6 separate regions of the Homo sapiens genome follow, and regions 2, 3, 4, 5 and 6 are each linked to region 1. Evidence: promoter capture Hi-C in 16 types of primary human blood cells and fetal thymus (Javierre and others, 2016). All regions are on one chromosome and are shown on one strand. The core of a region is centred on a gene start or on the middle of the fragment in contact, and the rest is flanking DNA. Distances in the headings are between cores, read along the strand shown.

Region 1 (4,241 bases), core at 1,440-3,939:
ATTTTAAAAGGGAAGCCTGACGCTGGTATTACTTCCTTTTTCCCACACACACACACTTTGCCTTTGGCGATGATGGCTATAACTGTAGCCTACTGAATAACTGAACTTCCCCCAAAGTTCAAGGTCTTCAGCTAAGCTCATCAGACTAAAACTGAGTCACATAACTGGGAAGGGTAGTCCCTTATGCCTAACCTAAACCCCATTACAAAATACAATAAAATGTGTTACCTGATGTAACAAAGAGTTCTTAGTGTAAACTAGCTCTTGCCCCTTTTCTACTTAAAAACAGAGATCCCACTATAATAAAAGAGGCTTCTGTATAATCAAGGCCACCGAGTATCTATGGTATGCACTACGGAAATCAGGCACACCCTTCTGCTTCAATATAAACTAGGACTCAAGATAACTCAAATCCAAGTAAGCGCCAAGCTTCCCTTACCGCCATTTATTTCTACCTCCTTGCTTACCAAACTCTTGCTAGGTCTAACAGTACGTTATAAATACGGGCTGAATTCACTTCCACCTCTTCCCTAGGCTTCTGGAGGTGCTGAGGAGTCCAAGGAAGCAGGACAGACAGAGATTCAGAAAATTCACAAATGGGGCAGACTATTTACCTACTAACAATAAGGACCGGAGGCAGTGGGTGGCTGTGAACATACCCCACAGCAACACTGAAAATGAGAAACGGACAGAGCCTGGTTTGGGGAGCTTTTGGAAGAATTTTTCAATGACAATGTCCGCAACATAAAGCAACGGTTTGTGTCCGTTAAATCAATTTCTTGTTTTAAAGAAAGATTTTACGCTACCTATGGTAAATAAATGGCTTGCCTTTCAATGTTTAAAAATGAGAACAGACTGGCCTCCACATGTTAAGTAAAACATTTACTCACAAATAGAAATTTTAAAAGTTATTTAGCATTCAAAAAAGGTGAGGGAAAAGAAAACAGAAACATCATAAAAACCCCACAGGCGGGTAGGGAGGGGTGTGCAATGGGGTGTGGGGAGCAGGTCCTAGGTCAAAGGAAAGCACATGTGAATCGTCTGAAAGACACACCAGAGCAGAAACTTTTATCCAGCTACTTCGGCAGCTATTTTTCAATATAGGATGGGTTTTGGTGACTGCACACCTACAACACACAGTGTTATATAACATGGAATAAGCTCGCTCAAAAAAAAAAATTCAGAAAAATCTTCCTGAGCAACTGTGTTAGAAAATGGTTTTGAAAAGCTCCAGTTACACGTACCCTTTCTACTACCAACATCAAAACAGGCTTTTTTAAAAAAGTCAGTTCTGTTTAGTATACCTACACAGCCCAGCAGAGCATAATAAAGGGTGGAACCTACTCAAGACAAATCCTTCAAAATATTCTATATTTGTAAAAGGCTGGTTTTCTCAAACGGCAGTTTGCCCATTTGATTCAAGTGACATGGGCGAGCTTGCCTACCCTACATTCCAAAGTCCAGCAGCAAACCAAAATATGTTCCACAAGTAAAGTTTGATCCACCACTTCTAGTAAACACTTGGTTTACTGGAGTGGGGTGAGCGTGGTGCTTCTCAAACGAAGGGAAGGAAGGTGAATGCGGAACAAAAGTAAAAAATATCATGTCGCCAGGTCCCCAGCAATAAATCAACTGTACAAGCTCCGAGCAGGCCTCACAAGTTGTCCTCAACTCATTACCTCTTCATCAGGAGAGAGACACCCCGTTAATTTGCGGGCTTTCGAGTTTCAATTTGCACCTTTCAGACGCAAAGCAGCGTCCCACTCCGGCGTTACAATGGGGCGCTGTGACGACAGCCAGGGCACGCGCAGCCCCGGCCGTGGGCGGCCCGGACAGCCCGCAGCTGCCTCCCCACCCAGACCCGCCGGGCCGTCCCCGCCTCCCCTCGAAGCCCTCCCCGCCCCCCCGCAATTACCTGCTCCGCCACGGCCCGGAACAGGCACGACCCGTCCTTGGCGACCAGTTTCCGATACAAGCCCAGTTTCCGCAGATAGGCGTCCATGGGCGTCGCGTCCTCGCGGGGCCCCGCGCCGCCCTGGTCCCCGCCGTCGGGGACGCCGACGGCAGCCTCCATGTTGCTGGTCCTGCTGCAGGCCAGGCGCGGCGAGGGCTAGCCCCACATGGCCAGGCCGCCGGCTGCTCGACGCCCCGGCCTGGGGCAGGCGGCGGCTCGGGCTGGGGCTCGGGCTCCGCGAGCGGCGGCAGGCGGCGGCGGCCCGAGGCAGCGGTCCGCGCTCTCCGGGCGCATAGGGAAGCCCTGCCTAATGCATGGCTGTCCGCACGCGGCCGCCTCCTCGGAGCGAACACGCGCCCACGACAAACGGGGGGAGCGGGATTAAGGAAAACCCCGAGAGTGAGTAGTCACTTCCCGACGGCCTCGCTGCCTGACTCAGGACCCAGGCCGGGGGTCGCCGCCCCCACAAGTTTCCTCCTCCGTACCGGTGTGAAGCGAGAAAACCCCCGCCCCTGGCGCGCACGCTGGGCCGGCTCAGGTGAAGCGGGGCCTGCGCCCCCGCGCACTCCCCACGCCGGGAGCCGAGGAAACCAAAAAGAAAGACGCGGCCTTTCGTTTCCCCACCTCGCTGGAGGGCGCCGGAGGGGCAGGGAGCGGGTGGGGGCGCCCGGGAGAGAACAGCACCTCGCAGCCCAGAATTTGTTTTCGCTTTCGGCCCGACAGCGGAGAGGACGGCGGGAGATGTAGTCTTGGCAGCCGCAGGAAGTCGGCTTGCGGCGGGCGGGGACGCGCTGGCCGGCCTACCCGGGGGAGGTGCCCGGGAGGCGCGCGGACTACAAGTCCCTACAGCGCGGGCGCGCCGCCGCCACCGCCACCGCCCCAAGCCGGCTTCGCGCTGCACTGGCGCCGCGTCCGCGAGCAGGCCGAGGGGCTCCGCCGGCCGATGTGGGGCGACCTGCGCGCGCCACCCGCCAACCCTGCCGCTGCGCCGCGGGAATCGCGCGCGCCGGGCTGGCGTGGAGTTGCCAGGGACACGGCGGCGCAGTGTCGGCCCTTTGTGTATTTCTTTCCAGAGGGCGCACCTGTCTGCTCCCTTCCCCCCGGCCTGCTCTCCTGGTGTTTCCATGGAGGTGGCTTTAACGGCTTAAGCAGAAAATAGAGCTAATTGGCTGAGGCTCCGGGAACTGGCACGGTGCGGGACGACACACTCTGTCCATAAATCAACCGTGGACTGCTGATTGCTATTAGTAGTACAGCTCACGTACTACGGCAAGATGAAGGCTTTGCCAAAGACATTTTTGTTCACCCTGTCACTGTAGCTGAGCACCCCATCACAGAGACATGTCACTGTCGGAAGACGTTAGGGTTTTTTTTTCCCCCTTAAAAAATTCATCTTGTAAATTGCTTGATAACATGCTGACTGGACTGGCCATGGCTTCCACCAGTGCTCGAGGCTTCAGCTCAACTTCCCACCCTCCGACGTTGAATGGCAGGGAATTGACAAAGTTAAATTATGCTTTAGAACCCAGAATTTATCCAGCATGCTTCTGTTGCACCAAAATTTTATTTTGCTAAGATACAACATCTGGTGTCCTTATTTAAATACATGGTTAATCATAGGAACTAATTCAGTCTTTTAGGCTATGGTGGAGGAGAGGGAGAAGAAAAGGGAGCATTACTATAGGTTTAGACATGTAGTCAAATACCTTGGAATGGGGGGCAAGGCAGGCCAGGTGGTGAGAGTCCAACGACAAAAATTTTTTAAAAACTACGTTAGACACTTTTCAGTATTTTCAGTGCAAGCAATCAGTCATGTATTCACTTTCCTTGGAGCGTCTTTGATTTCTTAATGTTTAAATATTGTATCTCAAATTATGCTGCTTTTAGAGAATACAAACGTTATCGTTACCTAAATGAAAAAATGTCCCTGCCTCAAATTTACTTGTTGTAGCGAAGAAACACTTTGAAATCAGGTTTAGAAAAGTATAGTTTCAGCTGGGCGTGGTGGCTCACGCCTGTAATCCCAGCACTTTGGGAGGCCGAGGCAGCCCGGTCACCTGAGGTCAGGAGTTCGAGACCAGCCTGACCAACATGGAGAAACCCCGTCTCTACTAAAAATACAAAATTAGTCGGGCGTGGTGGCACATGCTACTCGGGAGGCTACTCCCAGCTACTCGGGAGGCTGAGGCAGGAGAATAGCTTGAACCCAGGAGGCAGAGGTTGCGGTGAGCCGAGATCCCAACATTGCATTCCAGCCTGGGCAACAAGAGCGAAACTCCGTCTCAAA
Region 2 (4,623 bases), core at 1,276-3,775, 2.5 Mb after region 1:
TATAGGCATGAGCCACCATGCCCGACCTAGAATTTTTTCAAATAAGCAACTGTTAACAAAAAATTCTACACATCAAATCTCAAAATTTTTTCTGAGGAGAGACATACGATCCAAAATTGTAATAAATATTCATACAACTTATTGTGAATGACCATATAAAGAGTTTACATTAATTATCACAGGGGAGTACATTTGTCAGGTTAATGATCCATGTTCTTCTTAAAAGTTATTTATAAAACATTATTTCTCCACACTGAAAAAAAAAAGCATAATACTGAGTTGATTGCTCTATTAATTTAATGTCTTAAAACTGTACAGAGTACATACACTGCATTCCCAGAGCCCTAGCCCTGCACAGTCTAGTGAGCCACGCAAGGGCCCCATGGGCACCAGAGACAAAGGTAGCAGATTGATTGTTAAGAACTAATGAACTCGAGATACGTTTAATAAGAGAAATTCTGTGGTCACTTAGGAATTTTGTAGTTCATTATTCATAACATTAAGGTTTTTTTTAGCTGGATGTGATTTGAGGGAAAGAGAAAGCAATTAGTGAGGAAATGCATGAAAATACCTAAAAGGAACATTTAAAATGAGATTAACTAAATTCCTACGAATGTGAGCAATTGTCACTTTCAAACTTGGCAGAACCATGCTGAGTCCCCATCACTCTGAAACGTTCAAACTCAGAAGCAATGTTAACCATTCATTTTATTTCCTGTACTTTCACAGAATTCTTCACGCACATGTACTAGTATGCAGAGTTAACATAGCAGGCCTGACTGCCATCCTTTGAAAGGCCTGATTACAAAACTGTCCCTTGGCTGGCATCTGGGAATTTGGATTTGGGGAGGGTTCTCACTATCCTAACTGATAGTATTCCTAAACTGATTATACAAACAATGTGGTTTATGCTCAACAGCTGACCTGCTTTTCTTCTGGGAATCTAGGATTTTAGTATATGCCAGGCAGAGGGTACCCAAGTGTCCAGCTCCCAGTAGAAACCCTGGGCACTGAGCCTCTAATGAGTTTCCCTGGTTGGCAACATTTCACGTGTACTGTCATAACTCACCGTGGGAATGAAGTGCATCCTGCGTGACTTCACTGAAAAAGGAACTTTGGAGGCTTGCACCTGGTTTTCCTTTACACTTTGCCCCATACACATTTACCCTTTGCAAATTTTGCTTTGTATCCATTCACAGTAATACACAAGAGCCATGACTAGGACTACATGGTGAGGCCTGTGAGCCCTTCCAGCAAATCAGCAAATCTGGGAGTGGTTCCAAGACTCCCAACATGTAAGTTATCAACTTATTGCCAAATTCACCCTTTTTTGCCTGCTCTGTGAAAACTGTATCTGGCCCTTTAATATTCTCCCACCAGTTGGCACAAGGGTAAGCTTTGTTGGTAAAAAGTGCGGAGAGGCCGCGTGCAGTGGCTCAAGTCTGTAATCCCAGTGCTTTGGGAGGCCAAGGCCAGAGGATCGCTTGAGCCCAGGAGTTCCAGACCAGCTTGGGCAACAACATGGCAAAATCCTGTCTCTACAAACAAGACAAAAAATTAGCCAGGTGTGGTGGCATGTACTGCAATTCCAGCTACTGGAGTGCAGGTGGGGGCGCTGCTGAGGTGAGATCACCAGAGCCTGGGAGGTCAAGGTTGCCATGAGCCATGATGGTGCTACTGCACTCCAACCTGAGCGACACAGTGACACACTGTCTCAAAAAAAAAAAAGTGCTGGAGGCCAGGCGCAGTGGCTCACACCTGTAATCCCAGCAGTTTGGGAGGCTGAGGCGGGTGGATCGCTTGAGGTCAGGAGTTCGAGACCAGCCTGGCCAACATGGTGAAACCCTGTCTCTACTAAAAATACAAAAATTACCTGGGTGGGGTGGCAGGCGCCTGTAATGCCAGCTTCTCAGGAGGCTGAGGAACGAGAATCACTTGAACCCAGAAGGTGGAGAGGTTGCAGTGAGCTGAGATCACGCCACTTCACTCCAGCCTGGGCTACAAAGTGAGACTCTGCCCCCAAAAAAAACAGTGCTGGAGAGACACTGTAGCAAGAAAGAGTTTTGCTTCCTGCACAGGGCTTGTCTAGCACCAAGCTCCTGAAATGCATGGCAGCTAGCAGCATCCAAGGGTCAGCAGCTTCCCCAAGGCTTCTTACCCTACTACATGGTTTTGTAATGGAGTACCTCTGATAAGATACTTCCCCATGAGGCTTTCTCTGGCATCCCAAGAGGCAAAACTATACCCAGGTCCAGAAAACAAATTTACAAGAAGTTCCCTGGCAAGGCACTACAGTGACTTTTCTGCCATCCTAAGAATCACAGCTGTGCCCTCTCCAATAAGGGGTGGCACTCAGCCCAGTGAGGGGAACTCTTCCTTGGATATTCTGTCTTACTCCTAAGGGCAGTGGCTATTATGCCGTATATTACAAAATATTAAAACTGCTATGATTATTATATATCTGCTATTCTTTTCAATTCTCCTTAATAATTCTCCATATTAAACTTTCCCTGTTAAAATTACAGTATGATTTATCCCTATCCAGACTAATACAGAATAATTCTTAACAAGTAATACTAAAATCACTACAAACCTGAAGAGATGCTCCCCCATACTATTGCAAATCACTTCATCATCAGGAAACAGTTCCAAGGCCTGCTCATAGCAACCAAGTAAGTCTTGTATCCGACTGAGAGCATCAAGCTCTTCAGCCCATCTGAAAAGTGTGTACTGAAAAGTTTCCTTTACAAATAAGAAAAAAATTATGAATTAGTCAATAACATAAAAGATGAAAGAATATACATCATTAGTTGAAGATTCCAAGCAATCGAACTTAATCACTATTGAACAATCACCTTAAACTTCATTTAACTTTAGTAGGCACTGTTTTCTGAACAAGTGCACAAATGAATGAATTTTACCACCTACATGGCAATAATAAGCAGAATTAGTCTGACCACTCTCTAAACTCCCCCCACTCTTAGCTGCTGTATCACATTCTCCTTATTCTCCAGAACTGCCTCACTTTTGTCGGCTCCTGTGTTTTTGGAGTTTGTCCTTGGCCCTCTTCTTTTTTCACTCATCCATCCCTAACGCATTTATTATCACCCATGTGTTAATGGATGCTACATTTACATCTCTAGTCAAGACCTTCTCTTCTGAACCTCAGACTCATAGATACAGCTTCCTATTAGTCATTTCAACCCGGCAATGGATCTCCAGCCATTGCAAATGTAGTCCAACTCAAATATTTCCTGAACAATCCTTGTGCAAAGAACTGAAGCAACATAAATCTTGTTCTTATCCTCACAGAGGCCCTATAGAGAGAAATTTAATTTTGGAAAAGTTCAAAATGTTCTACACTGAACTCATCATACTCCTCTGACACAGGCTATAAGATTAAGACACCACTCAACCTCAAACCACAAAGTCACCTTATAATGGTACCTTAACTCCACATACACTGTTTCAAACCTAGCCAATGCTCTCTCAATATCTTTAAATCTGTTACCTCCTCTCCATTCCCACAGTTACAACCTAATCTGGCCCTTGTAACCACTTGCTGGACTACAGCAACAGCCTTAACGCTGTCACTCTAATTCCAACTGCATCTCCCTCCATCCATTCTCCATGCTGCAATACTGTGGAAAGAGGGAAAGCTTTAGTCATTAAAACATTTTAAATCATCTTCACATATTTTATACAAAAGCGTTGATATTTGGAACTGAATCTTGAGGGAGTTTACTAGAGAGACAAGGATAAGAAAGGAGATTCTGGCCGGGCACGGTGGCTCATGCCTGTAATCCCAGCCCTTTGGGAGGCCAAGGCAGGCAGATCACCTGAGGTCAGGAGTTGAAGACCAGCATGGCCAACACGGTGAAACCCCATCTCTACTAAAAATATAAAAATTAGCCAAGCACGGTGGCGAACACCTATAATCCCTGCTACTCAGGAGGCTGAGGCAGGAGAATTGCTTGAACCCAGGAGGTGGAGGTTGCAGTGAACCGAGATCGCACCACTGCATTCCAGCCTGCGTGATACAGTGAGACTCTATAAAAAAAAAAAAAACCCCGCACAGATTATATGAAATGGATCAGAGGGTCTACAGATAAGTGGCTTGGTGTGGCCGGAGTTTGGGTATGGGGAATAGAGTAGCAGGCAATGAGCATTTTACAGGGGGCCCATACAAACAAACACAGACTTTGTTCGGCAGGAAACAGACTAGTTGCTTACCCTACTGAATGTCAGGCATTGCACTACAAATTTTAAATATACTTTTTTATTTTTTCTTTTTGAGATGGAGTCATACACTGTCGCCCAGGCTGGAGTGCAATGGCACAATCTGGACTTACTGCAACCTCCGCCTCCCGAGTTCAAGCAATTCTTCTGCGTCAGCCTCCTGAGTAGCTGGGACTACAGGCACATGCCACCACGCCCAGCTAATTTTTTATTTTTATTTTTTTTTCTGAGACAGAGTTTCGCTCTTGTTGCCCAGGCTGGAGCGCAATGGCGTGATCTCGGCTCACCACAACCTCTGCCTCCCAGGTTCAAGCAATTCTCCTGCCTCAGCCTCTCGAGTAGCTGTGATTACAGGCATGCACCACCACGCCCAGCTAATTTTGT
Region 3 (4,065 bases), core at 1,403-3,902, 2.6 Mb after region 1:
TTATGATGTTTTGACATTGTTTTAAACAACTTTTTTTTTTCTCCAAATATCTAAAGAACTGGGCACACTGAATAAACCAGAGTTTTTACGGCTTGAAGTCTAATGTGGTAAAGGAGAAGCAGTTCTAGAGTAGTTCATCTTAAAAAAAATTTTTTATTGAGATATATTTCACAGACCAAAAGAAATCCACCCATTTATCACATACAATTAAGTGATTTTGAGTATATTCAGAATTGTGCAACCATTACCAAAATGTAAATTTAAATTGTTTTCGGCCAGGCTCGGCGGCTCACTCCCATAACTCCAGCAATTTGGGAGACCAAGGTGGGAGCATCATTTGAACTAAGGAGTTTGAGAAAAGCCTGGGCAACATAGTGAGACCCTATCTCTATGAAAAATAAAAATATTAATAATTTTCATCACCCTGAAAATAAACTCCTGACTACATATACCCTCCACTCTATCCCCCAGTCTCTAGCAACCACTAATCTTTCTGCCTCTATAGATTTACCTGTTTTGGACATTTAATATAAGTAGATAGTATTGGCCTTTTGCAGCTAGGTTCTTTTACTTAGTATAACGTTTTCACCGTTATTGTGCCGTAGCACGTGTCAGTACTTCATTCCTTTTTATTGTAGATTAATATTTCATTTTATGGACAAACATTTTGTGCATCCATTACACAGCTGACAAAGGACATTTTGGTTGATTCTACTTTTTGGCTATTACGAATAATGCTGCTATGAATATTTGTGTGTAAATATTTGCGTGGACATATATTTTCATTTCTTTTGGGTATATATCTAAGCGTGGACTTGCTGGGTCACACGGTAACCTCCATGTTCAATATTGAAGAAGTCTCAGCAGCCCCTCTATGAGAAAAGGTTTGGGTTTCTGCTCTGAGGATTGAGTGTGGTCAGTGCTTGGCTGTTTCGCTAGGCCCTCATTTTTGTTTACACCCCCTCTCTTCTTGTCTTTCTTCCCCTTTATTTGCCTCTTTTATTCTCTTTTCTGTAGACTCCAGTCTCCTGCTGGTTTTAGTAGGAACTGAAGCTTTCACCGCCTAAAAGTTATTTGTAAAACACTTTGAACTCTCTGGAGGATGGACATTAGAGTAATAATGTTTATCTGTGGGTTAGGCACTCCTGGTGCTGTTTTGTAACAAAAGGGCTTATTGAGTAGGAGGCTTATTTAACTTGTTCGGGAGGGTTACCCTCCTACAACATGCTGTCCAAACAGATTCTTAATTACCCAGCTGAGAGTCTGAACGTCTTGAGGAATTACTTTGAAGTTTCTCGTTAATATTACCATCATATCATGTAAGTCTATATCGCGAGTTTGTAGATGTATGGAGTTCCTAGTGGGTGCCCGGCACATAATAATTGCTTAATAAATTGCGATTATGAAACGTTACTCTAATGAACTATTAGTGTTTTTTTTTAAGAAATACTTTTTTTTTTTTTTGAGACATTGTCTCGCTCTGTCGCCCAGGCTGGAGTGCAGTGGCACCATCACGACTCACTGCAACCTCCGCCTCCTGGGTTCAAGCGATTCTCCTGCCTCAGCTGGGACTACAGGCACGTGCCACCGCACCCGGGTACTTTTTGTATTTTAAGTAGAGACGGGGTTTCACCATGTTAGCCAGCTGGTCTCCAACTCCTGACCTCAGGTGATCTACCCGCCTCCGTCTCCCAAAGTGTTGGGATTACAGGCGTGAGCCACCACGTCCGGCCTAAGGTATACATTTTAATACTTTAAAATGCCTAACTTTTTTTGGGACACACTGGAGTTGTTTCATAACACACAAAATAGGCTTTTTGAGGGCACTGACATAAATTCTCATTGATCGTCACCCCCACGCGGTGAAAACCACACGTTACCTGGCATGTTTTCCGGTAGTTATTTTTAGAATAATAAAGATCGTCTTCACCTACCCCAGCAAATTTAATGTGCTGAACACAACAGAAACAACTTTTCTGTGGTTTAGCCAGCCCTCTCTCTTCAACTAAGTTATTTAGTGCGGATACGCAGAGAAGTGTAATAGGAGCTGCTGGGCCACCAAGAAAACGCTCTTGCCATTGTAAGGCTTCGATCTCAAGCGGAGATTTACCACGCATCTCACTTTAAACTGGGAAAGGAACCGGGATAAGGAAAAGAGCCCCCTGTGCGAGTTCGTTCCCAGCTCGGGGTTGGGGGCGTCCCAGGATAAATGAGATAAATGAGTTAATCATCTCCTGCAAGGCAGCCACTTCAGAGTTATGTCGCCCGCCTGCGGGGACTAACGACTGCAATTAAGACGCTCCTTCTCGGTCCCGGTCGGGTTCCGTGCAGCGGGGAGCCGACTGTGAGTCACCCCGGCCCCGGGAGCCCAAGCAAAGGGGAGGGGAGAGCGCCCAGGGTGGAGGGGAGCCGCGGGGCGAAATTCTAGCCCCAGGACGCCTCGGAAGGAAGAGGAGGGGCAGCTGCGCGTGGGGAAGAGAAGGAAGAGGCGTCCAGGGAAGGGAAGGGAGGAAGAAGGAAGGCGGAGGAAAGAGAAGGGGACGAGCGGGAGCGCGGGCCCGGCCGGGTGGCGCCTCGGGGAGTGTCTGCCGCGCGGGGGCCGGGCGGGGCGGGGCCGCGGGCGCTCAGAGCTCGGCGGGGGCTGCCGGGATTGGGGCGCCGCAGCTAGCGCTGGTCTCGGTGGCAGCTCCTCCGCGCCGCAGGACTCGGCTCTACGGGACATGTCCGTGCCGCGCTCGCCGCGCGCCCGGGCCTGCTAGCTCCTCTGTGCTCCCTGAACGCGCGGCGCCGCACCTGGCAGCGGCCTCGGAGCTCGGCTCGGGCAGGAGCGCGCGGCCGTGCGCACCGCGCAGCGACCGCTGCCGTCATGGGGCTGCAGCCCCTGGAGTTCAGCGACTGCTACCTCGACAGCCCGTGGTTCCGGGAGAGGATCCGCGCTCACGAAGCGGAACTCGAGAGGACCAACAAGTTCATCAAAGAGCTCATTAAGGACGGGAAGAACCTCATCGCTGCGACGAAAAGTAAGCGGGGACGCGGGCGCGGACGGGCTGCGGCGTGGCGAGGCGGCTGGGGGAGCCTCTCTCGGCAGGAGACGGAGGGTCTTGTGTCCGGGGCCAGCAGCCAGAGGAACGGGGAATTCATTCCGGACCAGCCCAGCTCTCTCGGAACCCCGGGGGGTCCCTGGAATCATTCCTCCTCGAGGCAGCGCGGCGAGTCCCCATTCCCGCCCCTGCGGCTCTGCGGCGGCGGGAACCAGCTGCCAGCGGGCCCCGCCTGGGCCCCGCCTGGCCCCGGCCGAACACCCCTCGCTGAATGCGCGCTCCGCTGGACCGACCCTAGGCACTCCTGGCCCGGAGTCAGGTTTCATTGCTGCCTAAAGCTACTCACAATCTCTTACAAAACCGAGGCATCTGTTTGCCTAGTTTTGTTTTGTGACTTCTCAAAAGAAATTTCTTGGGGATTCTTTGAAACCCTGCGGGAGTGTTGAGTTTTCCAGAGTCCCCTTAAGCTTCACCTTTTCCCTCTCATTGTCTGATCTTCCCCGACAGTCCTGTTCCAGGTCCTTCACGTGCCAAACCAGAAAGTCCACCTGGCTTTATGCTGCTTCCGCACATTCCTCCCCTGCCGTGCTGAGGAGGGTTCAAAGATTGGGGTTTGGAAGGGTGAGCGGACAGCCTGCCCTCTAGCCTAGGCGGGCACTGCTTGCAAATAGGGAATTCCACCCCGGTTAGGCTTGGTGCCTTCCTCCCCTGAACTTCTGTCTCTTAAACTCGGAAGAAGACACGAGATACAGGAGAGATAACTGTATTTTAGTGTAGTTGAGGAGAGTCTTTCTAGGAGAGAAGGGGCCAAAATTCATGCAGAAATACTGAGTTAGTGATGCTACTGGAAAATGGGGCGGAATTAGCCCCAGTGAGGAGCTGGGCAGCCTGACCATCCCTTGGATCCATAACCCCTTCGGAGGATGGCGGTGAATGTCCCCTTTCCCCCTTTAAAAGACCTGTCCATACAGCAGACAGGGACTTGGGCAGTATCCAGCCTTGAGGGGCTGGGTTCTTAGGGCCT
Region 4 (4,198 bases), core at 1,194-3,693, 2.6 Mb after region 1:
GAAACATATATTTGTTAATGGACTATTCCGGGATGACTTTTAAATATTTACACTGAATAAATACCTGTATCTGGTTGGCCCATGTCCTAGCTGCTGAATATTCAGGAAAGAATAAGGGATGGCTCCTGACCTTGAGAAGCTTAGATTTCTGGTGAAAGTAGCTTTCTCAGTGCAATTATACTGTGAGTGGCATCTTCTTCCTCTCTGGGCCCTCCCCCTGGTTCCTGCTCCCCACTACTATTGCCACAGCTGAGTGTCAGGCTGAATGAATCATGGAGCTATCTGAGGATGGCAGTACTTACATTACTTTATTACGTTGTAAAATACTTCCTGATAAGAACGTACTAGTGGTTTTTTGAGTGTCTGGAAACATTGTAAACCTGTCAAATAATTCTAAAGATTCCGCTGTTAACATCAGCTTAAAGATTTGTTAGTAACGTAACTTGCCAAATTCCTTGCCCCATCACAGTGGTCTCCCTAATTAAAAAAAAAAAGTAATTAAAGGTTGAGATTTAATGAATTTTACTTACTAAATTTTCTCTGAAGCCAGAGACTTGAACATAATGAAATAATTGTTCATTTTTCAAAACCATAATATTTTTGTCCTTTTAAAGTAGAAATGGATGGTAGAAATTGTAGAAGCTGAATAAATTTGGTGACAACTTTGTTTTTGAGTTTGTTTAAACATTTAAGTGCTTAAAAATGGGGGCAAATTTTCTTGTCTTTTTTTTTTTTTTTGGCAGGGAATCTTGCTCTGTCACCCAGACTGGAGTGCAGTGGTGCCATCTCTGTTCACTGCAGCCTCCGCCTCCTGGGTTCAAGCGATTCTTCTTCCTCAGACTCCCAAGTAGCTGGGATTACAGGCACACACTACTATACCTGGCTAATTTTGTATTTTTAGTGGAGACAGGGTTTCACCATGTTGGCCAGGCTGGTTTTGAACTCCTGACTTCAAGTGATCTGCCTGCCTCGGCCTCCCAAAGTGCTGGGATTACAGGTGTGAGCCACTGCGTCCAGCCTTCATTCAGCATATGAAAATTAAAAAAACATAAAAAAGGGCAGAAATGAATTATGCAGCATGATTTCATTATTGCTCTCAGGAACTGGATAATGCTTTAAGGTAGGACTAATCTGTTTCAATGATGAGACATTTTCTCACTATACATAGCAGTTCTGGTCATTAGTGAAATTACTCAGTAAATGTTGAAGAAGAAGGAAAAATGAAGGTATCCATCATGATCCTAATTACCACCAATGAAGGTAATTAGGGAAATTACTCAGTAAATGTTGTTGAGGAAGAAGGAAAAATGAAGGTATCCATCCATAACTCAAGATGATCCCCTATTTAGAGAATAAGTATACATTCTACAGGCATCTAAGGTTTTCATGTTTCTCTGTTCTGTTTGGTTTTAATGGTATAATATACATTAAAAATTGTGCATCAAGGATTTTATTTCAGGTATGTGCTGCATTGCTTCTCTTTATGTAATAAATTCCTTGTTAACTGACATTGTTTCCCGGGGATTTCCGTATGTTAACAAGTTCTTTCTACAGAGATGATTAATACTTACGGTGATCACCCTGAGGTTCCACAAAACCCTCTTGAATCATCAGAGATGACATTCTACTCATTGTAACTTTAATGCCATGTATTTATTGTCTTTTAATTGTTTTGAAAGTTGGGCATCTGTTTGAGATATTTTTTTCTTTTGGTTATAATGACCCGTTTCCTGAACTTTTCAGATAAGAAACTATAGGATACTATCATGGAACCTGTTTTCTCCTGTACCCTGGTTTTAAAACCAGTGGCTGGAATTAAGACATGTGTTGAGGGAGGAAAAGGGAAAAGAGAGGAGCCTGAAGGGACTGCCACTTTTCTCTAGCAGTGGAATAAGGAGTACTTCATTGAGCTAAGAATAATTAATGTGGAGTGTTGAAAGATCATTCTGTATTTTATGCACATGTTCCAGATAACAGCATAAGGACCTATGAAAAGCAAGAAAAAAGTTTTCTGGGGCTGTCATCTTTGATCACATAGAGATGGAGTGTGTGTTCATACACCAGCCATTCCTGTCCGTCCTTGCCACCACTGACTTAGACCAGGTGACACATGGGCCTTAGTATGAATGTTGTAATTGGAGAATCTGCCTCAATTTTGAGCTCAACTCCAGTCTGTAGACTTGCTGATACAGTAGTATTTGTCTATCACAGCACTTAGAAATGATAGCCTGTGGTCAGGTGCCAGTGGTTCACGCCTGTCTGTAATCCCAGCACTTTGGGAGGATCATTGGAGGTCAGGAGTTAGACACCAGCCTGGCCAACATGGTGAAACCCTGTCTCTACTAAAAATGGAAAAATTAGCTGGGCATGGTGGTGGGCGCCTGTAATCCCAGCTACTTGGGAGGCTGAGGCATGAGAATTGCTTGAACCCGGGAGGCGGAGATTGCAGTGAGCTGAGATTGTGCTACTGCACTCCAGCCTGGGCAATAGAGCGAGACTTGATCTCAAAGAAATGGTAGCCTGTATCACATTGTTTTATGGCTATATCTCTGTATCCTGTATTTAACTTATAGTCATGTGGTGTTATGAAAAAAAGTAATCAGTATATATTGAGCACTTCTTTGTACCAAGCTAAGTAATTTGGAAAGACTTGTTTGTATTTTGACCTGGATTCAGATTCCACCTCTGCTACATACTGGCTTCATGACCTCAGTCAAGTTACTTAGCCCATCTGAGCTTCGGTGTTTGTTTTTTTCTGTATGACAGTTGTATGATTCTGCTAGGACAGCCATAGCCGAGTACCACAGACTGGGCAGCTTAAATAGCAGTCTTATTTTCTAGTAATTCTGGAGGCTAGAAGTCTGAGATCAAGGTGTTGGCAGGATTGGTTTCCTCTGAGGCACCTCTCCTTGGCTTGTAGGTGGCTCTTGTCACATGGTCTTACCTCTGTGCCTGTATCTTTGTCCTAATCTTCTTTTCTTTTAAGGAGACCAGTAATACTGGATTAGGGCCCACCCTAATGACCTCATTTTAACTTAATTACCTCCTTAAAGACCCTATGTTCCCTGTAATCCTAGCACTTTGGGAGGCCCAGGTTGGAAGATCACTTAAGCCCAGGAGTTTGAGACCAGCCTGGGCAACAAGGCGAGACCCCTGTCTCTGTTTAAACAGAAAAAAAGAATCCCGTGTCTGAATACAGTCACATTCTGGGGGGTAAGGAATTCAACATGAGTACTTGAGGGACATGTCCAGCCGCCTGTAACAGCAGTGAAAATGACATGTGCTCAAGTGGGTTTATTTTACTTTTTAATTTTTGTGGGTACACAGTAGGTATATATATTTGTGGGTTATCTGTAATATTTTGATACAGGCATGCAATGTGTAATAATTACATCAGGGTAAATAGGGTATCTATCACCTGAGGCATTTTTGTTGTTGTTCTTGCAAACAAATATACTCTTTTATTTTAAAATGTATGATTATTTTTGACTATAGTCACCCTGTTGTGCCAGCAAATACTAGGTGGCACAATTTTTTTGTACCCATTCAAGTGTTGTGTTGTTGTGAGGATTAAATGAAATAGTATATGCATGTGAGCTTAGTGCATGCATAATGTTAGCTTTCTCCTTGCTAGAGCGGGGTAGAATCTTGTTTTCTTTATATTCTATCCAAGTATAAACAGTAAATAAATGTCAGTGAAATTGTGTTTTAAGTATGTAGGTGCCCCTTTTCATAATTCTCATCTTCCTCGCCTCCACTCTTGCAACTAAATTAGTATTTTTTTCTTTTCTTGAGATGGAGTCTTGCCTTGTCACCAGGCTGTAGTGCAGTGGTGCTATCTCGGCTCACTGCAACCTCCACCTCCCAGGTTCTAGCGATTTTCCTGCCTCAGCCTCCTGAATAGCTGGGACAACAGGCGTGCGCCACCACGCCCAGCTAATTTTTGTATTTTTAGTAGAGGTTGGGTTTCACCATGTTGGGCAGGATGGTCTTGATCTCTTGACCTCGGGATCTGCCCTCCTCGGCCTCCTAAAGTGCTGGGATTACAGGCGTGAGCAACCGCGCCAGGCCCTAAATGAGTAATTTAATGCTAATTTAAGGGGATCTCTCCTGAGAAGTTCTCTCTACTTCTGCTCTCTGCGCACTGGGACGTGCCATCTCCACCTTTAAACTGCGCTAGGCCCTTGTTCCCTTCCCA
Region 5 (4,612 bases), core at 2-2,501, 2.5 Mb after region 1:
AGTGAGATCTCAAATAAACTGACTTCTAAATTTAAGTATTGCTATTGCTGTATTTTGAAGTACGATTTTGATTTAATCAGAGATATCTCATTTTTACTATTTTTAGAATCTGTGAGCTGCTTGGTATATATGACGAAGGGAACTTTAGCTTTTCAAATGCTTGGACTTATTTGGTTATAATAAACAACATGTCACAGTTGGTAAGTAAAATGTTCACTTTTCTTAAACTGTACTAAATTCGTATCTATAACTAAATTTCTTTAGACAAAGTTTCTTCTTAGGATAAGGCTTGCTTCTTTTTAATCTTCCTATAAATTAAATCTGAAATTTAATTTATAGAAAGACTTGAAAAAAATTTAATATATATCTTAATACATATATAAAGATATAATAACATCTTTGTTTATTATTTGGCAACTTATACCCTCACATGTTGACCATGTTTGTTCATTTATTTCTGTTGCTCATTGCATAGCTGTATGAGTATGTCATAAATAAAAGCACAGTGCTACATAAAAAAAAAAATACACACACACGCCCACATATACTGAACATATTCAGAAGAGAAAATATCAAATTGGTATTTGATGGTACAGGGTTTGAATAAAAATGTGAGAATAAAATTCTCTGTTATCATATATTTGAAGTTAAAGGAAAATTGAGAATGCCAAGTTTAAAAAAATGGATGATGTTCTAGAAACTGTATGTTCCAAAGACCTATGATGTAATGTCCTATTTGATCTTACAAGCTTAAAAAAATGTGCATTTTATTTAAATTCTTTGACTAATGCTGTCAGCAAAATAATTTAGATGCAGTGGTATGCATGGTTGGTATTAGAGCTTTATAATAAAAATTAAATGTCCATGTAGCTAAAGTTTTCCCACATGTTCATCCTCTTTGGAACCAGTAATTCTGTTTCTGGGAATGTATTCTAAAGAAGTGTTCAAAAGTATGTTTGCCTAAAGTATCTTTGTATATAAAGCCCATTACTTGTAAATAACAAAAGGCTGAAAGCAATCCAAAACCCAATGTTAGGGACTAGTTGAATGCACTGTGGTCTTTCCATTGGCCAAAATATTAGGCAGTTACTAAAAATAAGCCTGATGAAACATATAGAAGTTATGTATTTTAAGTGGAAAAAACATTAGGCAATAAAATTTTATAATTAGTTCATGACAGTTATTTAAAAACTGGCTTATGTGTAAAAAGGATGATTGGACACCATGAATCACTTTATTCTTTCTTTCTTTACTGGTTTCATATTCTAAAATACTTTGAATTTGCATTTTATATGATTTTAATAGGGAATAGTGAACTTTCAGGAAAATGTTTATTGTTATTCAGCACTACACTAGGTTATTACAGATTTCTAAAAAGTTAGTAAGTCTTGTTCATTTTAAAAAATAAATCTAGCTGAACTAATACACCGCTCTCAGGAAAAATTGTTTGATTCTTTACATTCAGATTTCATAGTCACAATTTTATTGAAATTGTACTTGTTTAATGGGTTACTTTAGTTACATAGGATAGACTAGGTAATAAGCTAAAGCCTCATAAAATGAGTGGTCAGAAATTTATGTTTAAAAGCCGTTACAGATGGATTTTTTTATTTTGGCTGAACAAGAGCCATTTCTTCCATTTATGTCAATCATTTGTTTATTGTTCCCTTTATGGAACCCAGGAAGTGAACACTTAAAAACATTTTTACGGAAGATGTTGTATGTAGTATATATTCATCTATAGTAAACTATGAAAGCTTGTTAATCTAAAAATAGAATAATAAAGCCTAGAAAAGTTTGCCTGAAACATTACTCTGTACCAGGTCTCTGGTATGTAACTTTAATATTTCTATTACCATATCTATTACTGAACAAGTTTAAATGTTAATCTTGTTTCTAGTTTGCCATGTATTGTCTCCTGCTCTTTTATAAAGTACTAAAAGAAGAACTGAGCCCAATCCAACCTGTTGGCAAATTTCTTTGTGTAAAGCTGGTGGTTTTTGTTTCTTTTTGGTAAGTGTTACTTTTTTTTAAATGTTCTCATTTTTTTAAGGGCAGTAAAAACCGTTGATTAAGGAGGATTTTTAAACAGTCTTAATGCGGAAGATAGATTAAAATGTCTCTACTTCTCTTTTTAAAAGTTCATCTTTTTAGCCCTTCTACAATTTTCAAAAGAAATAATTAGATGGTCGCTGTAACATTTATATGAAGAAAATAGTTTGAGACAACCTAAATATGTCAATACTAGAATAATTATTAAAATAAATCATGGCCCTGTCATATAATAGAATACTATGGAGTTTGGAAGAAAGCATGATGTAGAATATTTAATTATATGGGAAAATAATCAGTAAATCTTTTTAAAACAGAAGGTAAAACTATACATAGTTCAATATAGTAAAGAGGGCCGGGCACAGTGGCTCACGCCTGTAATCCCAGCACTTTGGGAGGCCAAGACAGGTGGATCACCTGAGGTTGGGAGTTCCAGACTAGCCTGGCCAACATGGCTAGTCTCTACTAAAAATACAAAAATCAGCCAGGCATGGTAGCAGGCACCTGTAATCCAAGCTACTTGGCAGGGAAGGCAGGAGAATTACCTGAACCCAGAAGGCAGAGGTTGCGGTGAGCCAAAATCATGCCACTGCACTCCAGCCTGGGCACCAGAGTGAAACTCTGTCTCAAAAAAAAAAAAAAAAAGAATTTAGTAAAGAGGTGGGTAATAGGGGTCCTAGAAACAAATACACCAAATTTAACAAGCTAGAAACAATACAAAAAGGGAAAAAGAAAAATCCCTGAAATCCCACCACCCAGAAAAGAATGATTAACATCTTGGTAAACCTGTGTCACATATAAAACTCCAGAGAAAGTTTCATACTATAAAAATTTTTGGAATTCGACAATGTTCAGTAGTATATTGTAGATACAGTTCTTTGTCAGTAAACAGAAATATTATTTTGTTTTGTGGAGGGGGTGATTTTTATTTTTATTTTTATTTTGCTTAGTATTCTGTTATGTGGATATAACTTTTTACTAATCTCCTTTTGATATTCAGGTTGTTCCTAATTTTTTTACCATTATAAGAAACACTGAAGTGAATATTCTTATGTATACAACTATGAAAGCATGTCCATGTCATTATTTGCTGTTTAAATTTTACCTGGGGCCATTATCTCTAGATTTGCTTGAAATGCTCAGCTTGACTCCCTATCTTGAGACAAAACTACTAGAAAAATGAATTTGTAAAGCAAATTAATATATTTAACATAGAGTTTCTTCAGCAATATGCTGTAAAGGCAGGGTGGTGGTGGTACACAGGTTGCACTGGATTTTTTTTTAATGGCACATTTTTAAAACTACTGCTCATTTTATGCTTGATATAGATTTGGCGTTTACCTTTTCCTAACATATAGGCAAGCAGTAGTTATTGCTTTGTTGGTAAAAGTTGGCGTTATTTCTGAAAAGCATACGTGGGAATGGCAAACTGTAGAAGCTGTGGCCACCGGACTCCAGGTAAGTAGTGCCATCTCTGAATTCAATAGAACTTTACTATTTGTTAAGCATTTTTACATATCTCCACTAAACCTGACAACACACAGGGTATGGGGCTATTATCCTCACTTTACAGGTGAGAAAACAGGGGAACCCTAGAGAAATTGGCCATAATTACTAATTTGTAGCAGATCCATGAATAAAACCTGGATTTCATTATTCCTAAGTCCAATTCTCTTTCCACATTTCTCCTTGTAGTCCTTGGGTGGTGGAATGCAATATACTTGATGTGATTGAGAATGAAATGTACTTTGCTAAGAAATACTTGAGGCTGGCCTGGTGCAGTGACTCACGCCTGTAATCCTAGCACTTTGTAAGGCCAACGTTGGGGGATCACTGGACCAGGCATTCGAGATCAGCCTGGGCAACAAAGAGAGACCTCATCTCTACAAAAAACTAAAAAATAAAATACTTAGCCAGGCATGACAGCACATGCCTATACTCCTAGTTACTTGGGAGGCTGAAGTGGGAGGATTGCTTGAATGCAGGAGTTCAAGGCTGCTACTTGAGGAAGTGCAAAATAGATTCACATTTTGGCATTTTGTCTTTTTTTGAAGGGGTCAAAAATAATTATTTTAGAAAATGGAAAAATGAATATAATCTGAGAAGAAAAAACACAGCTGTTTATCTTAGCACTTTTGAAAAGCAAGTAGAGAAAGATAGCACTCTACAAACCTAGATTTAAATCCAAAGGTGGCTGTTATCTTATTGTTGTTCTCATAGGATTTTATTATCTGTATTGAGATGTTCCTCGCTGCCATTGCTCATCATTACACATTCTCATATAAACCATATGTCCAAGAAGCAGAAGAGGGCTCATGCTTTGATTCCTTTCTTGCCATGTGGGATGTCTCAGATATTAGAGATGATATTTCTGAACAAGTAAGGCATGTTGGTAAGTACCAGCTATTTAATTCAACCAAATAGGTTGGGTAGGATATTGAATTTCTCCTACTAGGGCAATTTATTATCTATTTAGAGATGAAAAAAGACTTTAAAGCAGTACCACAGTGCAGGCTCATCAACTTTGGGGAGTGGGAGAGGGGGAAGTGGGGAGCTTATT
Region 6 (4,493 bases), core at 1,463-3,962, 2.4 Mb after region 1:
CCCGTCCACAGACCCCTGGGTGAATAGCTCCAGGTCACCCTGTGGAAGACTTGGGAGGAAATCCACTGGATACACTATGGCTAAAGTACAGAGTTCTTCTTCAGAGGCAACTGGCCTCCATCTCTGTTGAGGGGCTTCATCCGTCCACTGGCTGAGTTCTGAGACTCTGGTAGGAAGCCATGAATCCTAACATGGTGTCTAGTTTGTTTCTGCCCAGTAGTCCTAGAGGTCTAGGTCTACTCAGTGGACCTCAGTAAGCTGCCCCTTGATTTCATGTCAAAACACTCCTATGACCATTCCTTCTCCATGATGCATTGTGCTAACTGCACATAAATTTGTCTTTGTCTATTAACAACTCCCACCTACCCTCTACCTCTCTGGAATCCCATTTTCTCGTTGTAATTGGGACATGCCATTTTTGCAGCATTTCCATTGTCTTCTCTGGAAGTCAGAGGACAGCTACCAAGGAAGGCCCCTTCCCCAGTGCTTGGTGAAGAGGTGTTCTCCAAACCTCCTGCTAGGTAGTAGCAGAGCTGGTTGCTAATAACAGGGCTTTAAAGAGACAAATTTAAAAGCCACTGCCACAAGTTTCTGAATGCTGAACCCTAGCATTCCACCGGAAGACCACAACTGTGCTGGATACCTCATTCTGCCTTCCAGCATACCAAGAGAGTGCATTACTAGGGGAACCTAGTCACTATTCAGACCATTAGTTGCAAGGAGTTTGGGAAATGTAGTTTCTAGCTGGATGGCCAGGTGCCTAACTAAAACTCTTTTACTATGACAGAAAGGAAGAACAGATTCAAGGAATAATTTCCAGTTCCCCACATTCAGCTCTCCTTCTCTACCAGTTCCTTCCCATCAGCATTTAAACATGTTCACAGATTGTTGTTATTTTCTTCCACTTTGGGAGGAAAAGTAAAACTCATTTCCATATCCCCCCTCACTATTTCTCTCCCTTTATTCTATATAATTAAATATTATAAAAGAATTGTCAGCTAGATGTGGTGGCTCACGCCTGTAATCCCAGCACTTCGGGAGGCCGAAGTGGGTGGATCACTTGAGGTCAAGAGTTCAAGGCCAGCCTGGTCAACATGGTGAAACCCCATTTCTACTAAAAAATTACAAAAATTACCCAGGTGTGGTGGTACATGCCTGTAGTCCCAGCTACTTGGGAGGCTGAGAGAGGAGAATGCTTGAACTCAGGAGGCAGAGGTTGCAATGAGCTGAGATCATGCCACTGCACTCCAACTTGGTCAACACAGCAAGACCCTGTCTCAAAAAAAAAAAAAAAAAAAGAATTGTCTTCGAATGCTTATCAGTGTATGTAGAAAAGTCTAAATTTAGCATAGGAAAAGGAGCTCTGGATATTAATACACAATATACAAAACTGAGACCTGTGGAATGATTGAAAATTGAAGACTTATTTTTTTTAACATCACCAGTGTGGTAAGCAGGATAATGACCATCCTCCCCCAAAAGATGTCCATGTCCCAATTCCAGAAACTGTGCATATGTTACCTCACAGAGCAGAAAGGGATTTTGTAGACATGGTTAAAGTTAAGAACCTTGAGATTAAGACATTGACCAGGCACAGTGGCTTACATCTGTAATCCCAGCACTTTGGGAGACTGAGGCAGGAGGATTGCTTGAGCCCAGGAGTTTGAGACCAGCCTGAGTAACATAGCAAGACCCATTTGTACAGTCAATCAACCAATAACAAAGAAGAATTGGGGAAAATATCTTGGATCATCTGAGTGCGCTCAATCTAATCACGTGGGTCCTTAGGAGTATAAGATGAAGAAGAAGGGATATTACATGAAAGGGACTCCACTCTCTGTTGCTGGCTTTGAAGGTGGAGGAAGGGGACTGACCATGAACCAAAGAGTGTGGACATTCTCTAGAAGCTATGAATGACCCTCAGCTGACAGCCAGGAAAGAAAGCGGGGCCTCAGTCCTACAACTGCAGGGAACTGAATTCTGCCACTGACTTCAATGAGCAAGGAAATAGGTTCTCCCCTACAACCTCCAGAAAGGAATGCAGCCTGCTGACCCCTTGGTTTTAGCCCTTTTAAATCCATGTTAGACTTCTGACCTCCAGCACTGTAAGATACTAAATATGCATTACTTAAGCCACTAAGTTTGTGTTCATTTGTTCTGGTGACAATGGAAAACAGATGTATCTTATACATCAGATAAGATACTTTTCCCCTTAAATCTTCTTCCCTGGGGACATTGATCACAAAGCGGTATTTCTGAGAATAGAGAGCATTTTAAAAGCTTGGTTCTAGGGCAATTGCCAGATTCTTATATCCTGACCTACACATGGTTCCAGGGAGAGGATGAAGCAAGAAGAGAAAAAACAAAGACCTTGCTCTTCTGTTTCCCTCTCATTTCCCAAACAAGAAAATTGGAAAATGCAAATCATAGAATTTATACTATTGGAGAAAAATATCTAGTTCTACCTCTACATAGTAAGGATACCTCATAAGTAGAGGCACCATTTATGGCCCAAGCCTGATGGACTCTATTCAGAGCTTTGCATGCACAGAACATTCCTTTTACAGTGTGGGAGGAGTTACACAGGCATGCGAACACACACATCCCACCCATAGAAAACCATCTAGAACAGGTGTTCATGAGTTTACACAAGGATGCTCAACAGCCTTAAATACACAAACAAAGTAAAGGTAAAACTCAAACTTCATAGAGACCACTCCTCATGTTCAAAGAAGAAAACTCCTCCACACTAGGACAAAATTCCCCATGAATTCTCTTTACCTTGTGTAAGTCAAAGCCTTCTTTCTATGGGGATCACCACAGGCTAGCATCTAATGGACAAATACAGTGCATAATAATTTTGATTTAAATCCTAAAAGAATTTGTCTCAGTATAAAAATATTTTTCCTTTCTCACATTTTTAATAATACACAGAATCTTCTTCCTAACCAGAAAGACCTTTGCTCCCAAATCTACTGAATTACCTAGTTTTAAATCTGTTAAAGTAATTTAAGTTTTTCTAGTTCCTTTTAACCTGAAACTTGATATTCTAGAAGTATCACTTAAATTGGTCTGAAAATAAAACATCAATGGAGATAAGAAAGAGAAAAAAAAAAGAAACTTCCCCACCAGATAGAGCTACTAGAAAGCTTACTTAGTGAGTAATAATTTATAGAAAAGGTAATTTATTATTTACTATGTTAAGTTGTTTGCACCGTTCAAAGTATCTTCTTCGCTCAGTGACAAAACACCACATATACTTCTAAGGCCTATTGGGTGCTCAAACTGCTTTATCACCTTTCTTGTGAGGAAACTAGACAGCACTATAGTGATTAATCCAGTAATTCTAGTAACACATCTTTAAAGATGAGGGCAAATGTTCTATTCATTTAAATATTTATTTCAGTAGTTTAAACAAAGAACCTTTATAAAGAAAACCCAATATAAAAGTTAATATACTGGGGGAATAAATGTGAATCAAGAATGTAAAATTTAAATCTATAAAGCAGAGGAAGCCATGAGAAACAATTGTTGGGCAAGCCTGAAAATGTGGGGAACAGTATCTGGAATAAAATAAGAAGCAAGGCCAAGGACAAAGGCTAGTCCAGGTCAGAAGCACAGATGGGACTGCAACTCCCAAATCGTGTGCTGAAGAGCGACAGCGTGCTGGAGTGAACTCACAGAAGCACCTTAGGATGTTTTATACTTTTAAAAGAAACACAAAAACATCTGTCAGATCGTATGCGAATGTCTGTAATTAGGTGTTTGGAACTAATTACTTAATAAGTGAAACTATTAGAATTTCTTTGGCTAAGGGACACCATGAAAAAACTAGTGAGATTCTAAGGGCACCATGAAACAAGAAAGTTTGGAAACTTCTGCCTTAGGGACATGCTAGGATTCAAAGGACATTGCCTACTCAGAGTAAAATTAGAGTAGCAGATGAAAAGTGGAAAGGACAGTGCCTCTAGCTTCTGCATACCTAATTATACACAGTGGGGCCTTTTCATAGCTCAATGCTAGCTCTAAAAACTCTTGTGCGCTCTCATTCTAAATTCACTGCAGGAGCCCCTTAAAATCACTGAATCTTGCTTTCAAACCAGCGAATTTCGTTCTTCCTTAATAACAAAAACAAAGCAGTAATTTTTCAGTGTTGGTCTTGGGACCAAACAGAGTTCCTCAAATATTTAGAGAAACTCTACTAAGACTTAAGTATCACCTTCCTCATGAAGAAATGAATGAACTTTATGGAAAGATTCACTCAGCAACTTCATAATAGCCCATTATCAAAATTTTAAAATTTACTCTAAATCAGGGGTTGGTAAACTTTTTCTATAAAAGTTCCATAGTAAATATTTTAAAATATTCTTTTACAACTCTTTAAAAATGTAGAAACCAACTGAAAGCAGGCACTTGAGCAGATATTTGTACACCCATGTTCACAGCAGCATTATTCACAATAGGCAAAGGGTGGAAACCTAGTGTCATATCAA

What was found. The method cuts DNA at HindIII sites, captures the fragments that hold promoters and counts their contacts. A CHiCAGO score of 5 or more calls a contact.
Region 2: a contact is called between a fragment that was not itself captured here and the fragment with the promoter of OTUD4 in region 1, in 1 of 17 cell types (total CD4 T cells). The highest score is 6.5, in total CD4 T cells.
Region 3: the fragment with the promoter of ARHGAP10 here is called in contact with the fragment with the promoter of OTUD4 in region 1 in 3 of 17 cell types (M0 macrophages, M2 macrophages and M1 macrophages); the score reaches 7.0 in M0 macrophages.
Region 4: a fragment that was not itself captured here is called in contact with the fragment with the promoter of OTUD4 in region 1 in 1 of 17 cell types (M2 macrophages); the score reaches 7.1 in M2 macrophages.
Region 5: a fragment that was not itself captured here is called in contact with the fragment with the promoter of OTUD4 in region 1 in 3 of 17 cell types (M2 macrophages, non-activated CD4 T cells and total CD4 T cells); the score reaches 7.7 in M2 macrophages.
Region 6: a fragment that was not itself captured here is called in contact with the fragment with the promoter of OTUD4 in region 1 in 3 of 17 cell types (total B cells, total CD4 T cells and non-activated CD4 T cells); the score reaches 7.4 in total B cells.

The regions. Positions count from the first base shown.
Region 1 is chr4:145,177,900-145,182,140 of GRCh38, forward strand. It overlaps OTUD4 (OTU deubiquitinase 4), which reads right to left and starts at 2,690. Exons shown (of 21, transcript NM_001366057.1): 1 at 1,916-2,690. The coding sequence starts at 2,074. RefSeq lists enhancers at 117-366, 1,792-2,621, 2,622-3,451 and silencers at 1,797-2,256, 2,377-2,606, 2,697-3,096. The HindIII fragment of the contact is 3,984 bases long and covers 428-4,241 here.
Region 2 is chr4:147,677,730-147,682,352 of GRCh38, forward strand. PRMT9 (protein arginine methyltransferase 9) reads right to left here. Exons shown (of 12, transcript NM_138364.4): 2 at 2,594-2,742. Among named protein-coding and RNA genes, the nearest start is that of PRMT9, 4.1 kb to the right of the region's middle. The HindIII fragment of the contact is 2,263 bases long and covers 1,395-3,657 here.
Region 3 is chr4:147,729,436-147,733,500 of GRCh38, forward strand. It overlaps ARHGAP10 (Rho GTPase activating protein 10), which reads left to right and starts at 2,653. Exons shown (of 23, transcript NM_024605.4): 1 at 2,653-3,020. The coding sequence starts at 2,867. RefSeq lists enhancers at 2,264-3,156, 3,157-4,049, 3,370-3,439 and silencers at 2,350-2,869, 3,180-3,259. The HindIII fragment of the contact is 2,455 bases long and covers 1,052-3,506 here.
Region 4 is chr4:147,768,019-147,772,216 of GRCh38, forward strand. The region is part of intron 1 of ARHGAP10 (Rho GTPase activating protein 10); the gene reads left to right. Among named protein-coding and RNA genes, the nearest start is that of MIR4799, 12 kb to the right of the region's middle. The HindIII fragment of the contact is 4,613 bases long and covers 138-4,198 here.
Region 5 is chr4:147,629,493-147,634,104 of GRCh38, forward strand. TMEM184C (transmembrane protein 184C) reads left to right here. Exons shown (of 10, transcript NM_018241.3): 6 at 107-200; 7 at 1,901-2,013; 8 at 3,411-3,510; 9 at 4,273-4,444. Among named protein-coding and RNA genes, the nearest start is that of TMEM184C, 14 kb to the left of the region's middle. The HindIII fragment of the contact is 1,008 bases long and covers 748-1,755 here.
Region 6 is chr4:147,608,690-147,613,182 of GRCh38, forward strand. It overlaps TMEM184C-DT (TMEM184C divergent transcript), which reads right to left. Exons shown (of 2, transcript NR_186679.1): 2 at 1-1,272. Among named protein-coding and RNA genes, the nearest start is that of TMEM184C-DT, 6.3 kb to the right of the region's middle. The HindIII fragment of the contact is 869 bases long and covers 2,279-3,147 here.